Linked DNA regions of Homo sapiens: region 1 is linked to region 2. Evidence: promoter capture Hi-C in human tissues and cell types (Jung and others, 2019). All regions are on one chromosome and are shown on one strand. The core of a region is centred on a gene start or on the middle of the fragment in contact, and the rest is flanking DNA. Distances in the headings are between cores, read along the strand shown. Region 1 overlaps ZNF26 (zinc finger protein 26). Region 2 holds the start of ZNF605 (zinc finger protein 605).

Region 1 (2,700 bases), core at 155-2,654, 58 kb before region 2:
ATTACAGGCGCCCGCCACCATGCCCGACTAATTTTTGTATTTTTAGTTGAGACGGGATTTCACCATATTGGCCAGGCTGAACTCGAACTCCCGACCTTGTGATCCACCCACCTTGGCCTCCCAAAGTGCTGGGATTACAGGCGTGAGCCACCACGCCCGGCCAGTAGCTACTACTTTCAATAACACACTTTTATTGGGTCTTGGTGGAGGGAGAGGGCTGAGGGTCTTAGGAACACATAATGGATACAATCCAGCATGTCACAAAGCATTATCATTCTTTCTTCTAGATTATGGCAAAGTTCCTGACTTTTGTTCTTCCCCTTGCCATAAGCCAGTGTTGGATCTGGTCTTGCCTTAGCTGCTACAGCTAACTTTTAAAACCATCATCATGGTCAGGCATGGTGGCTCACGCCTGTAATCCCGGCACTTCGGGAGGCCGAGGCAGGTGGATTACCTGAGGTCAGGAATTCAAGACCAGCCTGGCCAACGTGGTGAAACCCCGTCTCTACTAAAAATACAAAAATTAGCCAGGCGCGGTGGCACACACCTGTAATCCCAGCTACTATGGAGGCTGAGGCAGGAGAATCGCTTGAACCCAGGAGGCGGAGGTTGCAGTGAGCCGAGATTGTGCAATTCACTCCAGCCTGGGTGACAGAACAAGACTCCGTCTCAAAAAAAAAAAAAAACAAAACAAAACAAAAAAAAAAACAGAAAGCAAAACCATCATCACTGCTGGGTGTCAGTGCACCAAGTATATGCTGTAAGTAATTGCCCTTCACTGAACACCCTCAAAGGATTTCACAAGTATCTACCCCCTCCCCCAACTTTTTTTTTGAGACAGGGTCTCACTGTTGCCCAGACTGGAGTACAGTGCAGCTCACTGCATCCTTGACCTCCTGGGCTCAAGTGATCCTCCTGCCTCAACCTCCTGAGTAGCTGGGATTGCAGGTGTGCACCGCTGTAACCAGCTTTTAAGAAACTTTTGTAGACAGGGTTTTGTCACGTTGCCCTGGGTGTTGTCATGCTGAGAAGTTTTGATACATTACTCATTCCTGCAATGCTCTATGAATTCTACATATTTTCCTAAATGAGCAATCCCATCCCAGGGCATGTTTAGTGTAGATTATTGTTACCAAACTGGTAAAAATAAGCCATGGGGAACTGGCAGAATAAGCTTCCTCCTGCAAGGCAAATTCCACATTTTCCCAGAAAAGGGAAGGGGTTCTATCTGTATCAGGAGGTGGCAGGTTTTTTATACCTCAACTACTCAACTGTGCCATGGCTGTGCAAAAGCAGTCAAATAATACACAAATATATTTAGCCATGTTCCAACAACAGTTATTTATGGACACTCAAGTTTGAATTTTATATATTGCCAACATCTACTCTATAGCCTTAAATGAAGCATCTGCAGTGCAAAGTCTATCAGAAGAGTTTGCTAGGCTGAGTCCTCAGGTTCTTCCCAGATACTCCTATTCAAAGTCTATCAGAAGAGTTTGCTAGGCTGAGTCCTCAGGTTCTTCCCAGACATTCCTATTCAAAGTCTATCAGAAGAGTTTGCTAGGCTGAGTCCTCAGGTTCTTCCCAGATACTCCTATTCAAAGTCTATCAGAAGAGTTTGCTAGGCTGAGTCCTCAGGTTCTTCCCAGACATTCCTATTCAAAGTCTATCAGAAGAGTTTGCTAGGCTGAGGCCTCAGGTTCTTCGCAGATACTGCTATTCAAAGTCTATCACAAGAGCTTGCTAGGCTGAGTCCTCAGGTTCTTCCCAGATATTCCTATTCAAATTATCAAGGGATAACTTTTTGAGGGGGGGAAGGGTGAGGATAACTTTTTCAACACATGTTTACATTAAGGGATTTAGTAAACATTTGAGGTGAACTGACTTTAATTCACCAAGCCAAATATACTATTTGATTCCCACCACCTCACTCCTACAGCTGTAAGAAACTTTTTCAGCAATGTCAAAGTTGCCAAGTCTGACACTCCACCCTGAGGTGAGATTTCAGGGCTTCAGGCCTGTCATTCTCATGGTCTAAGATCCAGCAAGATCAAAATCAGCCATCTCTGCCCCTGTCTCAGATTTTCTCATAAATTTAAAATTCTTATAATGCTATAATTCTTCAGTGTTTCCAAAATTTCAGTATCAGGCACTACAACGTTCCAGGTGTACAGAAACAATAACCATATTTCACATGATGGCTAAAAGTTGCTATCTTCAAATATAAACAAGAATGTGATTTTCTTGTCTCAGGAAAAACAAACAAACCTAAATCATATACCCCACTTTGTTAACTACATGCTACCAAGGCAACAACTGATCAGTTAAAGCCCTTAGGTTATAAGAAATAGAAAGCTGGCCGGGCTCGGTGGCTCACACCTGTAATCCCATGACTTTGGGAGGCTGAAGTGGGCAGATCACCTGAGGTCAGGAGTTCAAGACCAGCCTGGCCAACATGGTGAAACCCCGTCTATACTAAAAATACAAATATTAGCCAGGCATGTAATCCTAGCCACTTGGGAGGCTGAGGCAAGGAAATTGCTTGAACCCAGGAGGTGGAAGTTGCAGTGAGCTGAGATCATGCCATTGCATTCCAGCCTGGAGGACAAGAGTGAAACTTAGTCTCAAAAAAAAAAAAAAAAAAAAAAAAAAAAAAACCCAAACAACAAAAAGCAAAAGACATTTTTATTGAGAAGTGAG
Region 2 (2,700 bases), core at 42-2,541:
GGGTTTCACCGTGTTGGCCAGGATGGTCTCAATCTCCTGACCTGGTGATCCGCCCACCTCAGCCTCCCAAAGTGCTGGGATTACAGCCGTGAGCCACCGCGCCCAACCCTATCATCTATTTTCATTCCTTTTGTCAATACTGCTGGATTGGATGTACTAAATGTAAGGTCCTCTGAGCTGGCCGCACCATGGTCAAGCCATCGTGACATTCCCCCACCCTTGTGATAATGTACTTTGTAATATTCCCGGTCCTTGTGAATGTACTTTGTAACATTCCTCTCCGCCCTTGTGACAATACACCCTCCCCGCCCTTGTGAATGTACTTTGTAACATCCTCCCCTGCCCGCAAAAAATTGCTGCTGAGGCCGGGCGCGGTGGCTCACGCCCGTAATCCCAGCACTTTGGGAGGCCGAGGAGGGCGGATCACGAGGTCAGGAGATCAAGACCATCCTGGCTAACACAGTGAAACCCCGTCTCTACTAAAAATACAAAAAAATTAGCCGGGCGTGGTGGCGGGTGCCTGTAGTCCCAGCTACTCAGGAGGATGAGGCAGGAGAATGGCGTGAACCCGGGAGGCGGAGCTTGCAGTGAGCCGAGATCGCGCCACTGCACTCCAGCCTCGGCGACAGAGTGAGACTCTGTCTCAAAAAAAAAAAAAAAAAAAAAAATTGCTGCTGACTCCACCGCCTATCCTATCCCAAAGCTATAAGAACCAATGACAAGCCCACCACCCTCCGCTGACTCCTTTCTCAGACTCAGCCCACTTGCACCCAAGTGAATAAACAGGCGTGTTGCTCACACTTAGCCTGCTCAGGTGGTCTCCTATACGGACGCACGTAACACTAACATTTACCGATATTACTTACAGCTACGATGAAAAATGGAAAAGCAGCCGGACGCAGTGACTCATGCCTGTAATTCCAGCATTTTGGGAGGCTGGGGCAGGAGGATCATTTGAACCCAGGAGTCGGAGACCAGCCTGAGGCTGCAATGAGCGTTCATGGCACCACTGCACTCCCCACTGGGTGACAGAGCGAGACCCTGCCTCCAAAAAAAAAAAAAAAAAAAACAAGGAAAAGATGCAGACGCTTCCTCCTGGAGGCGCCTTTAGGTTCTCTCACAGACATGTTGGGCCAGCAGTGCTGGCTCCATCCTAGATTTCTTCCAGTCCTCCCCAGTTAGCCGCCAAGGGGCTTTTCCAACCGGAAACCTCCAATCCGCGACCCCGGCGGGTGCACCGCCGAGCCCCCCGGGAAGTGTAGTTCCAGCGCGAGCGGGACGCTGGGAAATGTAGTTCTGCGCGTTCACGTCCCCGATCGGGCCGTGTCCGCCGCGGCCCTGCGAGGTCCGAGGGGTAAGGGAGCGTGCAGCGGGGGCGGGACCACGAGGCGGCGGGGCTGGGGGCGGCCTCTGTGTCTGCGCCGGGGATCGCGGTGACCCCGCTGCGGACCGGCTCGCGGTGACCCCAGCGCGAACGAGCTGGCTGCCGGCTGGGGCGAGAAAGGCCTGCGGACCGGCCTGGGCGCATGCGCGGAAGGCGGGCCTCAGGCGGGGGCTCTGGGGGCGCGCGGGGGTGGGAGGCAGAGGGTGGGGTGGGGGCTGTAGGGCGGGCGGCGGCGGGGCGCTGAATGTGGGTGTCGGGGGAGATTTGGGGTCAGCTGGGCGATTCACTGGGGGCCTATGGAGGTCGCTGTAGACTTGGGGTGCAGCACGGGCGGGGCAAGGGGACGCGAGGTTGCCCTTGGCCCCAGGGGAGAGGGGCCCCTGGGAGGCCGTGTGGAGGATTTGTCTGCAGCGATTAGGACTCTGCTGATGAATGATTTGGATGCCTTTGGGTGAGCATTGGAGGCCAGCGGGGTGAATGATGAGGCTTCTGCGGGGGCCTGCGTTGGAGGGCTTAGGGGCTTGCTTGTGTGGGTTCCATTCACTGGAAAGCCTGCCGGCTGTGACAGTGTTGGATTTCACCAGAGCCCTGTGCTCCTGGAAAACAGCGAAGGTTGAGGAATTTCCCACCCTTTTGGGTTCCAGCAAATGGCTCACTGCAAAGATCTCCCGTTCCCTATATGACTTTGGTCAGCCTCCAGGATGCCCCTTGTTCACACAGACCTGCCACGTTGCCGTCGCTTGCCTCATCGGTGACTGGCTGAACTCCACCGAGCGGTCGGAGCAAAATGCTCCTTAAGCAAACTTTAGCTAAGCTTCTTTCCTTTCCCCATTTTCTTGAGCTTTGGCCCATCCCCAGCCTGAGCCAACACGCAGCCTCGCCTGAGAACAGGCTGGCTCAGGGTCAAGCTTTCCCCGCTCTGCTGTCTGGTCGCCCGCACTTCCACCTCGCTTGGCCAGGCCTGGTCTTTGCTAACCTTGTTCACACCTCTCTGTGAAAGAAAAACCCTTTTTGCCTTGCAGAGATGCACGTGAGTCTCGTGGCTTCACGGTTCTTCCCAGAAGCCCGTTCTCCTTCCCCTTCCCAACCCTCTTCCGCGTCTTTTTTTCCCCACTTCCAATAACCCTTTGGAACCGTCTTTCTTTGCTCTGTCCAGTTGTATGTTTTATTTGACAGCTGAATAACAGTGGTTGCTCTTTCAACCCCTGTCTCCAATAGCGGAGGCGAGTATGGGGTGGCCTATGCTGGCGAGTGGCTGGGGTTTGTTTCTGTGCTTGTGTTTGGGGATCTTATGATGGAAGCATTAGGAATGGCGC

Evidence for each region. Contacts are between HindIII fragments. The study calls those that stand out against the background at their distance.
Region 1: a fragment that was not itself captured here is called in contact with the fragment with the promoter of ZNF605 in region 2 in 2 of the 25 tissues and cell types used here (IMR-90 fibroblasts and stomach).

The regions. Positions count from the first base shown.
Region 1 is chr12:133,012,536-133,015,235 of GRCh38, reverse strand. ZNF26 (zinc finger protein 26) reads right to left here. Exons shown (of 4, transcript NM_019591.4): 4 at 1-2,700. Among named protein-coding and RNA genes, the nearest start is that of ZNF84-DT, 23 kb to the left of the region's middle. The HindIII fragment of the contact is 5,610 bases long and covers 1-2,700 here.
Region 2 is chr12:132,954,897-132,957,596 of GRCh38, reverse strand. ZNF605 (zinc finger protein 605) reads left to right here and starts at 1,291. Exons shown (of 5, transcript NM_183238.4): 1 at 1,291-1,354. LOC124903064 (a long non-coding RNA gene) reads right to left here and starts at 1,048. Exons shown (of 2, transcript XR_007063552.1): 1 at 867-1,048. RefSeq lists enhancers at 1,081-1,160, 914-1,742, 2,020-2,314, 1,743-2,573 and a silencer at 1,321-1,660. The HindIII fragment of the contact is 15,452 bases long and covers 1-2,700 here.